3 separate regions of the Homo sapiens genome follow, and regions 1 and 2 are each linked to region 3. Evidence: promoter capture Hi-C in human tissues and cell types (Jung and others, 2019). All regions are on one chromosome and are shown on one strand. The core of a region is centred on a gene start or on the middle of the fragment in contact, and the rest is flanking DNA. Distances in the headings are between cores, read along the strand shown.

Evidence for each region. Contacts are between HindIII fragments. The study calls those that stand out against the background at their distance.
Region 1: a contact is called between a fragment that was not itself captured here and the fragment with the promoter of LYZL2 in region 3, in 2 of the 25 tissues and cell types used here (lymphoblastoid cells and mesenchymal stem cells).
Region 2: a fragment that was not itself captured here is called in contact with the fragment with the promoter of LYZL2 in region 3 in 2 of the 25 tissues and cell types used here (H1 embryonic stem cells and spleen).

The regions. Positions count from the first base shown.
Region 1 is chr10:30,418,221-30,421,680 of GRCh38, reverse strand. No RefSeq gene overlaps it. Among named protein-coding and RNA genes, the nearest start is that of MAP3K8, 14 kb to the left of the region's middle. RefSeq lists enhancers at 2,853-2,922, 2,963-3,082. The HindIII fragment of the contact is 6,307 bases long and covers 1-3,460 here.
Region 2 is chr10:30,454,015-30,457,343 of GRCh38, reverse strand. The region is part of intron 6 of MAP3K8 (mitogen-activated protein kinase kinase kinase 8); the gene reads right to left. Among named protein-coding and RNA genes, the nearest start is that of MAP3K8, 21 kb to the right of the region's middle. The HindIII fragment of the contact is 4,028 bases long and covers 1-3,329 here.
Region 3 is chr10:30,627,801-30,631,020 of GRCh38, reverse strand. It overlaps LYZL2 (lysozyme like 2), which reads left to right and starts at 1,268. Exons shown (of 5, transcript NM_183058.3): 1 at 1,268-1,428. The HindIII fragment of the contact is 10,435 bases long and covers 1-3,008 here.

The DNA of each region.
Region 1 (3,460 bases), core at 782-3,281, 210 kb after region 3:
TAGTAGAGATGAGGTTTCACCATGTTGGCCAGGCTGGTCTCAAACTCCTGACCTCATGATCCACCCACCTTGGCCTCCCAAAGTGTTGGGATTACAGGCATGAGCCACCATGCCCGGTTAATTTTTGTATTTTTAGTAGAGATGGAGTTTCACCATGTTGGCCAGGCTGGTCTCCAATTCCTGACCTCAGGTGATCCATCCGCCTTGGCCTCCAGAAGTGCTGGGATTACAGGCGTGAACCACCGTGCCCAGCCCCCTGGCCCTTTTCTAATGTTTAATAGCATATCTGCCTATCTTACTTCTATCTGTGTAGCAAAATCACAGGCAATAAATGGTGACTGTGGCCTCAATTCATTAGTTGTTACTGTAGCTCCATCCTTATTCCAACAACATAATCGAGGGAAGAGGAGATTATCCGTCACCTGTCTTGAGGGGCAGGCTGTCGCCTTAGGATAGTCCCTTATGGGCATGGCCAGCCTGTCACAGGGGGGCACATTCACTCAGAATCTTAACTCCATGCTGATGATGGCTTGGTTTTAGGACCAGTGATTCTCATTTGCCTTATAAGTATCACCTAGGAAATTCTCATTCAGTAGAGGTAGGCTTGGGCCCCTGAAATCTGAACTTCAGAAAGCAAGAAGGGACTGTTCCTTGGAAATACTAACCAAGTGAAAAGAACACTTTTTAAATTCAAATCTCTGCTTCCCCATTTTCTGTCCATGTGACCTTGGGCAAGTCACTTAAACTCGTAGAGCTTTGGTTTCTTTATTATATAATGGAAAAAAGAAAAGCTATCTTGTTTTCATTTTACTTTTCATAATATCAAAACCTCTTAACCTACAGCTCTAACCATAGGAGAAAAGTGAAATCATGTATTGCATGTATTTATACTGTACTAAAATGTTTTTGAAAAACATACTTTCATTTACTCAGTTAATATCCCTGATGCAGTGACCCTGAAAGTTGCTGTTACAAGGCTTGTTTTGTATTTGAGGGATCTGAAATTTGGAGATTAGTAACTTGTCCAAGATCACTCAGATAATACACATGGCCAAAATTCTAACTCAAATATATTGCCTTCAAAATTATATAGCCATTAGGTTACTATATTCTTGGACTTCGCAGGTGCTAAGTCACCCACTCATTCAAGAGACACTTACGCACATCAGTGGGCCCCAGGGATTGCTATAGGTATTGGAGGTACAGCCCACATTACTCATGGGCTGCTGTCAACCATGAAGCCACTGGCCAGTCCCCCTCACTTATGCATGCAGCCCTCAGTTGACACCAAGTTGCCTCCCACATCCTTGTTTGCCTGAAACCCACCACCATGAGTGGTTCTAGCTAAGTCAACTGCTGCCCAGTTGGGTCCCCCAGTTTTATCCCTCAGATCCAAGATTCACAGAGCATAGTCTGGGTGCAGAGACCTCCTGGCAGAAGGAGATACTGGAATATTGAGATGTACCTTCTTGGCTCTAGTTAGTTACATTTGGGGAAACTTCAGATGCTCCCCATCCTGATGCACAGATTATAGCTCTAACTGCTCTCAGAAGAACAGCAAATTAGAGAGCATACCAAGAGTTTATACTTTTTAAAAGCTTAAATCTGATTTCAAAACAATTCCTGTTTACTAAAGACTTGCTAGAAAATAGGGATAATGAAATTTACCCACCAATCCCAACACTCAGATCAACAATAATTGCTGTCAACATTTTAGTGAACATCGTTCTGATTTTGTAAAGCACAGATATTAAGATTTTGTAACCTTTATCTCTGGCACCTGCTTCTAAAATCAGCTTTGCAAGTGAGAAGAAAAGAATAACCACTATATCGTTTAAAAGACAATTCTGCTCCTTTATCCGTTCATGCAACAAATATTTGAGTGTGTAGTATATGCCAGTCACAGTTTTAGGTGCTGGGGAGCAGCAGTGCACAAAACTCAATGGCCTTCATGGAGTCTAGAGTTTTGTCAGGGAGAGAGAGACACTGAACAAATAAATAAATACACATAAGTGCACAATTTATGACACGTTTCAAGAGGAAATGAACAAGGTGAAGGAAGTGAATGGGATGGGGAGAGATACTTTGGGACTAGAACTTACTTAGGTCAGGGAGAATATTTCTGAGACTGTGACGCTCACATAAACATAATGTTCTAGATTATAGCAGCCTGGTATAAGTCAAAAGTCACTGTGGATGAATAAACATTTGTCACTTAAGTCCGTGTTTCAATTTTGTTATTAATTGATATGGACAGATCTTGCCACTGCATTCTAGCCTGGGCAACAGAGCAAGACTCGGTCTCAAAAAAAAAAAGAAAAGAAAATAATATTATAAAGAAATGTTGCTTTACATAGTCCCCATAAATACACCATAATCAAATACAATCAATTACACAGTATTTGAACCTGTTTTAGTCCCTGGTGGAAAGTCTGAGGTAAAAGAAAAAAATATGGGCTTTAGTGTTATATAACATCCAGATGCCAATTTTTTTCTTTTTTGGCCTGATACTAGCTGTTGATTTAGAAAAGCTATTTAATCCCTTTGAGCTTTACTTTCCTTGATTATAGGAAAAAAAAAAAGGCATAAATAGAGTGAAAAAAGTTAACCTTCTTGATGCCAGAGAAATAGAGTAGCGCTTGGTGGTGGATGGGTTTTTCTTTCAACTCAATAGGGCTCTGTTAGTAACAGAAACCCCGCATGGAGGTTTCTCCAGTGCCTGGAGAAACCTGGGTAACCGACTCAGCAGGTTGAAGCCTTATCACTGTGGCTTTTCTTTTTAAGATATGGAAACTTCCGGTTTCCTTTTGTGCCTCTTTTATTTCACTTACTTTATTGCATCACAAGCTATGTGGTAGTGGTTTCATTTTTACCATGTGAACTGGATTATCCCACTGCAAATCTCCCTTGAGTTCTTGGAAAAATATCTAACATTGATAAGAAACAGGAAAATTTTAAGAAAATACCCAACTAAGGAACTATTGAATGTTTGACATAGTTTGCAGAGGCTTTAGGAGATCTTAACAGGTTCTTTTTTTCTTTCTTTTCTTTTCTTTTGAGACAGGGTCTCCCTCTGTCATCCAGGCTGGAGTATAGTGGCACAATCCCGGGTCACTGCAACCTCCACCTCCAGGGTTCAAGCGATTCTCCCGCCTCAGCCTCCTGAGTCGCTGGAATTACAGTGTGCGCCACCACAGCCTGGCTAATTCTTGTACTTTTAGTAGAGACGGGGTTTCACCATTTTGGTCAGGCTGATTTCAAACTGCTGACCTCAGGTGATCTGCCCACCTTGGCCTCCCAAAGTGCCGGGATTACAGGCCTGAGTCACCTCCCCTGGCAACAGTTTCTTTCTTTCTTTTTTACTTTCTCTCTTTCTTTCTTTCTTTCTTTCTTTCTTTCTTTCTTTCTTTCTTTCTTTCTTTCTTTCTTTCTTTCTTTCTCTTTCTTTCTTTCCTTCTTT
Region 2 (3,329 bases), core at 371-2,870, 170 kb after region 3:
GTGATTCTAAAGAGTCATTTTTACAAACTATCTGTTATTTTTACCTACTATGTAGCCCAGTGACTAAATATTAAATGCAGCCATATTAACATTGTATAAGTTATATTTGGTCTCATGAGTCCATGCTGAATAAACAGGGCTGGTTTTATAAATAGTTTCTCTAACGAGCATTTATTTCTAAACTTAAGAAAGAAACAAAGAGAGGTGGGGCATGGTGGCTCATGTCTATAATCTCAGCACTTTGGCTTTTTTTTTTTTTCGAGATGGGGTCTCCCTCTGTCACCCAGGCTGGAATGCAATGGTGCGATCTCGGTTCACTGCAACCTCTGCCTCCCGGGTTCAAGCTATTCTCCTGCTTCGGCCTCCCAACTAGCTGGGATTACAGGCATGTGCTACCACGCCTGGCTAATTTTTGTATTTTTAGTAGAGATGGGGTTTCACCATGTTGGCCAGGCTGGTCTCGAACTCCTGACCTCGTGATCCACCTGCCTCGGCCTCCCAAAGTGTGGGGATTACAGGCGTGAGCCACTGAATCTCAGCACTTTGGAAGGCCGAGGCAGGAAGATTGCTTGAGCCCAGGAGTTTGAGACTAGTCTGGACAAGATGGAGACCCCCCATCTTTACAAATTAATTAGTTACCTAATTTAATTAAACATTTTTTTAAAAAGGAACAGAGCAAACACTGGTGACCAGTGATTTGTATTCATGGCTGGTGCAGACATATAGTAGTTAATATCCTGATTATCAGTATTTCGCTTGAAACAGCTTGTACACTGTCTGCCATGTGAATAAGAGAATGGAGGTCAGTGTTTCCGGAACACATTTCAGGGTAAGTAATTAGAGAACTAGCTTACAAAAACCAGAGAAACTGCCCAGTCTCCCCACCCTAACCCTGCTCAACTCCTTCCTGCAAGCCACTTCCGGGCCAGCTTCCTTTTGCTCTCAGCAAACAGGTGAAACTGAGCTCCCGTTCTCAAGCTTTCCCTGCAGCAGAGCCAGAGGACTTTCCAGAAGGACTTTGCTACTAAATATATCACAAACTTAAAAAATTAATGCACAACATTGTACCTATAGTCAACAATAGTGTATTGTATACTTAAAAATGTGTTGAGAGGGTAGAGTTCATGCTAAGTGTTCTTACCACAATCAAATAAAAAAGAAAAAGAAATGCAATGGGTATTATTAACTGTCCATAGAGGATGCCTATCTTCTCTCCTGTACCCCCTCCTCCCTGCCAATAAAGCAAGGATTGGGCGGAGTGCCCACTGCTGGTGTAGCCCACAGGGGTTGTGCAGAGGTGGCTCTGCAGGTTCTATGTGACTGCACGCCTAGGCAGCCTGGGGGGATGGAACATCTGTAAGCCTGGTGGCCTGGGTGCTGCCACTCAGGTAGAAACCCCAGAGCTTCCTGGCTCGGAGCTCTTGTTCCTCAAGCTCTACCAACTACCAGTTAGATCAGGGAGCAGCAGGGCATAATGTTCGAGCACTCTGGCTGATTAGAAGGCATGAAACAGCCCTGGTGGGACCAACACAGGGCTCTCTGAGAGTTCTGCACCCTCGGGGCAGGGCACTGGAGCAAGAGAAAACCTTGATGTCAGCGATCGAACCCTTCACCTTTCAATATGTTTATTAGAAAGGGAAAGAGACCGTGTGTGTGCGTATATGTGCATGTGATGACTATATGTTAACTTACAAAGGTAAAACCAAGCAGACTTAGAAGGATTTTTCAAAAAGGACCAAGTTCTAAAAGTAATTCTGATTTGTTATTCGCATTCACTATGTATTCTCTCTCTGTACCTTGCAACTCAAAAACAGTCTATTCTGTATATGCTGGATTAACCCTGGATGTGTATTACATGGTTACAATAGAATGCTCTGAATACCAATGCTTAGAGAGAGCAATCAAACAGGGGTAACCAGGGTTTGCATTTGGGAGCTATACTGCAGAAATCAGAAATTGTCTATGACTGTGCAGTAGCCACATGATCAAATTCTAACATCAGCCAGTCTGCACAGTTGACTAATTAGATCTCCTGGCTCTTTAAGTAGGAAGGGTAAAAGCAAGCTTGTTGAAAGGTTTCACTGGTCACTTCACAACTTTGTTCATTATCAAACTTCAACTCGTGTGTACTAGGCAGATATTAAATGCAGGCTGATTAGAAGAGAGTTTATATTTATAAACACCAAGGCACAGTTTTGCACTTCACAAAAAGCAATTTGCATTTGCCAAAAAAAACCTGATCCAAATACTACTCAGGAGTAAAATATGTTATTATCTCATATCCATGCATTCCGCTAGACAGCCCCAGAAAGAACACTTCTTTCTCCAATGTTGCAAAATGTTCAACTTCACCACATTGCCAGGAAGAGAAAAGTATTTTCCATCTTTAATACCATAAATAGTTTGTTTTTCAAACTGGTTCCAGGAAAAAGGGTGGTGGAATATTACATATCTGAACTCCTGACTAATGCCAAATATGCTGAAACATTTTCCAAAGAAAACATGTCGTAAGCATTAAGTCTTATTAGACCTCACACTTTGGTAAAGTATTCTTAAGATCTGGGGACTAAGCATTCTTAAAAAAAAAAAAAAAGTACAGCTTCCCTTCTGAATATTGTTCTGCTCAAAGACAACCGTCAAGAATCCTCGCTCGAGCATTTTCAATAATAACTTCAGTAATATTCACAAAAGCAAGGATTTCTTCTGCTGCCCGGGAGAGTGCTGGCTTTGAGAGAGTTGAGAAAGGACTTACAGAATCTTGGCGTTTTTTTTTTTTTTAGGACAAGGTCTTGTTCTATTTTCCAGGCTATGGGTGCAGTGGCATAATCACAGCTCACTGCAGCCTCATCCTGGGCTCAAGCAATCCTCCCACCTCAGTCTCTTGAGTAGCTGGGACTACAGACATGCACCACCATGCCATTTTTACAAAAAGTAAAGTTTTTGTTTGTTTGTTTGTTTACTTTTTGTAGCGATGGGGTCTCACTATGTTGCCCAGGCTGGAAGAATCTGGTTTGAAAGGAAGACAATTTTTTTGTGGCTGCAATCCAGTTCAGTGCAACACGTATACTAGCTAGACTAGACTAAGGGTTGTCATCTGATTGAACACCAAGACTGACCTGGTAATCCTGACATAGAGGTGCAGCCAAAGACCCTCTCTCTATTTCCTATGGGCACTTCCAGCAAAGAGAAGGGCATGGGGCTGAGTGGCTCAGGCAGTGCAGCTTCCCCCGGTAGTGGTGAGGGGCCAAGGAGGCAGCTTTTACACCCATTTACCTTCCTGCTTGCATCCAACCTTGTGCCCATCACAATCAACTGTGAACTAAACTGTT
Region 3 (3,220 bases), core at 19-2,518:
TGCAATGAGCCGAGATCACACTACTGAGCTCCAGCCTGGACAACAGAGGGAGACTCTGTCTCAATTAAAAAAAAAAAAAAAGAGAGAGAGAGAGAGAAAAAAGTCCACAAATGGCTTCTGAAGATAAGAAAAGATGCTCAGACAGCTTGAAATAAGGGAAGCTGAAATTGAAACTTTGCTGACAAATTATGTTTCATCTCTAATATTAGCAAATATCTTAACCTTTGGTAATAGGGTATGCTAGCCATCTTCGTCATACAAGCCCACGTGGAAGGCAATTTGGCAATATCTAGCAAAATTACAAAATTACAGTCCTTAACCCAGCAATTCAATTTCCAGGAATGTATCCTACAGATATTCTTGCAAATGTACAAATGACAAATGTACAAGATTACTAATTGTAATATGTTTATCATAGAAGAAAAAAATACCTTAAGTGTGAGTCAATATGGAATTGGCTAAATATGTTATATCTACACAATGTAATACTATATAAACTTAAAACTAGATTTCAACAAGATCTTTGCATTATTTGCAGATGGAATTTAATAAAATACAATAATTAGTTAGGTACAACTAACAACAAACTTATACTGAGATCTACATATTCCAATGAGAATTCATTTCAAATGTGTCATTAAATCTGAACACAGAAATAAATGGACCTTCAAACTAGCTCTTTATTGAGTCACAAAGTGTTAAGCCAAATTTTTAAAAAACAATGAAATCATGTTAATTATACATAAAAATTTTTTATTTCTTTTGTGGCCCTCCTTTGACAATATTTTATTAATTAACAATATAACTATAGCAAAGAAATGTGCTGTTAATTAATTTTTAATGTTAATTTCACCTCTCATTCATTTTCAGATTTTAGTTTTGTGTATGTTGATAATTTATGTAGCATATTAGTACAGAGGTACAGAAGTGTGATTTATAATTTAATATACATCTAAAGAGGATACATGCTTAACTTTATTAATGGAATTTGTGATAAAGTTTGCAGACTGTTGCCTTAGAGAAGAGCTCTCACTTGGACGGGAGGCCCTGGCCAAGTTGTGTAGTGAGGACAGTTGTTGAGAGGAAAAGAGAAAAAACGAGAGGTATTAAGGCCCAGAAGAGAGTTAGCACCTGCTTCAGAACACAAGCGTGCAGGATGATATAGCTTTTAGTGCCAAGAAGTAGAATTCTAGCATCTCTAGGTGGTGAGAAACAAAGGACTAAGAATTTTTCTTTCTCTAACACTCTAAAGAAAGGTTCTTGAGCTAGGAAAGGATTACTCGAGCCTTGTTAGAATCAGACATGGCTTCAGGGGATGCAGGACGCTCCCCTGAGCTGCCTGTCACCGACTAAGTGGAGCAGTGTTTCTTCCGCAGACTCAACTGAGAAGTCAGCCTCTGCGGCAGGCACCAGGAATCTGCCTTTTCAGTAAGACCTAAATTACTCTTATGAAGCCACCTGTCCCTGAGAACCAGCAATGGCAGGTTCTTGAAGGATGTAGAACATGATGCTTGGGGTTATCATTGCTACGGGTTTTGTTTTGACTTGTTTGAGATCAGTTAACATTCTAAGGCAGAGGATGGAAACCAACCTTATTTGTAAGCTCTGCATCTTTTTTTTTTTTTTTGAAACAGGATGTCACTCTGTTGCCCAGGCTGGAGTGCAGTGGCACAATCACAACTCACAACAGCCTCAACCTCCCAGCCTTAAAAGATCCTCCCACCTCAGCCTCCCAAACAGGTGGGACCACAGTCACACACCACTATGCCTGGCTAATTTTTGTGTATTTTGTAGTGACAGAGGTCTACCTTTGTTGCCCAGGCTGGTCTCAAACTCCTGGCTTCAAGCAATTTGCCCTTTTCACCCTCACAAAGTGCTGAGATTACAGGTGTGGGCCACCATGCCCAGCCTAAGCTCTGCATCTTAAACCTCGTTTGTCTGTCCCTCACAGCTTAGCACAATGCTGTACACCACGGACTGGCATGATCTCTCTGAAAAGGGCCAGATAATAATATGTTAGGCTTTGTGGTCTATACAGCCTCTAACACAGCTACTCAACTCTGCCACTGCAGCAGGAAATCAGCCACCAACAATATATTACCAAATGATGAGAGTAGCTATGTTTCAATAAAACTTTACATACAAAAGCGGGCCTGGTTTGCCCACGCTTGCTATTCACGTTTGTAATGTACATGCCCCTCATGCAATGCAGTTCCTTATCTTATTGCTTAGTCACCTTAAAGCCCTGCTTGTTACTCGGTGCGGTGGCCTTGCTGATGACTACTTATCCCTGTTTTGGGCCTAGCCTTTCAATGCAGGAATCCAGCCCCAGGGAGAGAAACTAATGACTAGAGAAGTTTCCAGGCAAGTGCAGAAAATGACACGGGATGAACATATGTAAGAACATCAAGTTCAGGATCCCGAGTAGTTGTCAGAAATTTCACTTCACCCCATCCCAGCAAGGCTGTTGTGTTTGGGGAAGACATTATTTTAAGAGGGGAGGAGATTGTGGAAAATCAGTAGGCAGCAGGAGACAGCGCTCTTGATCCTACTCCCATTTCAGACGATTCTATGGGGGCCTCTTTATTGTCCCTCTGCTCCCCCAGGTGCTTTCCTCCTTTCATGAGGCTTTGTCCTCCATCCCTCTTGCTCCCCAGTCAGGTGCCAGACTTTTAGGAGGCCGCCCGGAGCACTGGTTGTGAAGCTTAGCAAAGCAATGCATTTGCAATCTAAGATAAAACACTAGTACTTTGGAAGCAATGCTCCCACATTTTGAAATGCATCAAGAAAAGAAAAGGAAAGATTAGGTGCTTAATCTTCACCCTTCAATAAACCCCCAAACGATGAATCTTTTTTTTTTTGAGGCGGAGTCTCGCTCTGTCGCCCAGGCTGGAGTGCAGTGGCGCAATCTCCGCTCACTGCAAGCTCAGCCTCCTGGGTTCACGCCATTCTCCTGCCTCAGCCTCCCGAGCAGCTGGGACTACAGACACATGCCACCACACCCGGCTAATTTTTTTGTATTTTTAGTAGAGACGGGGTTTCACCGCATTAGCCAGGATGGTCTTGATCTCCTGACCTCGTGATCCGCCCGTCTCGGCCTCCCAAAGTGCCGGGATTACAGGCGTGAGCCACCGCGCCTGGCCTAGACGATGAATCTTAAAGTTTTCCATTCAGGTCCACGTGTATTTCATCTCTGGCTGAAATGGGGTGTCTGTTTCTA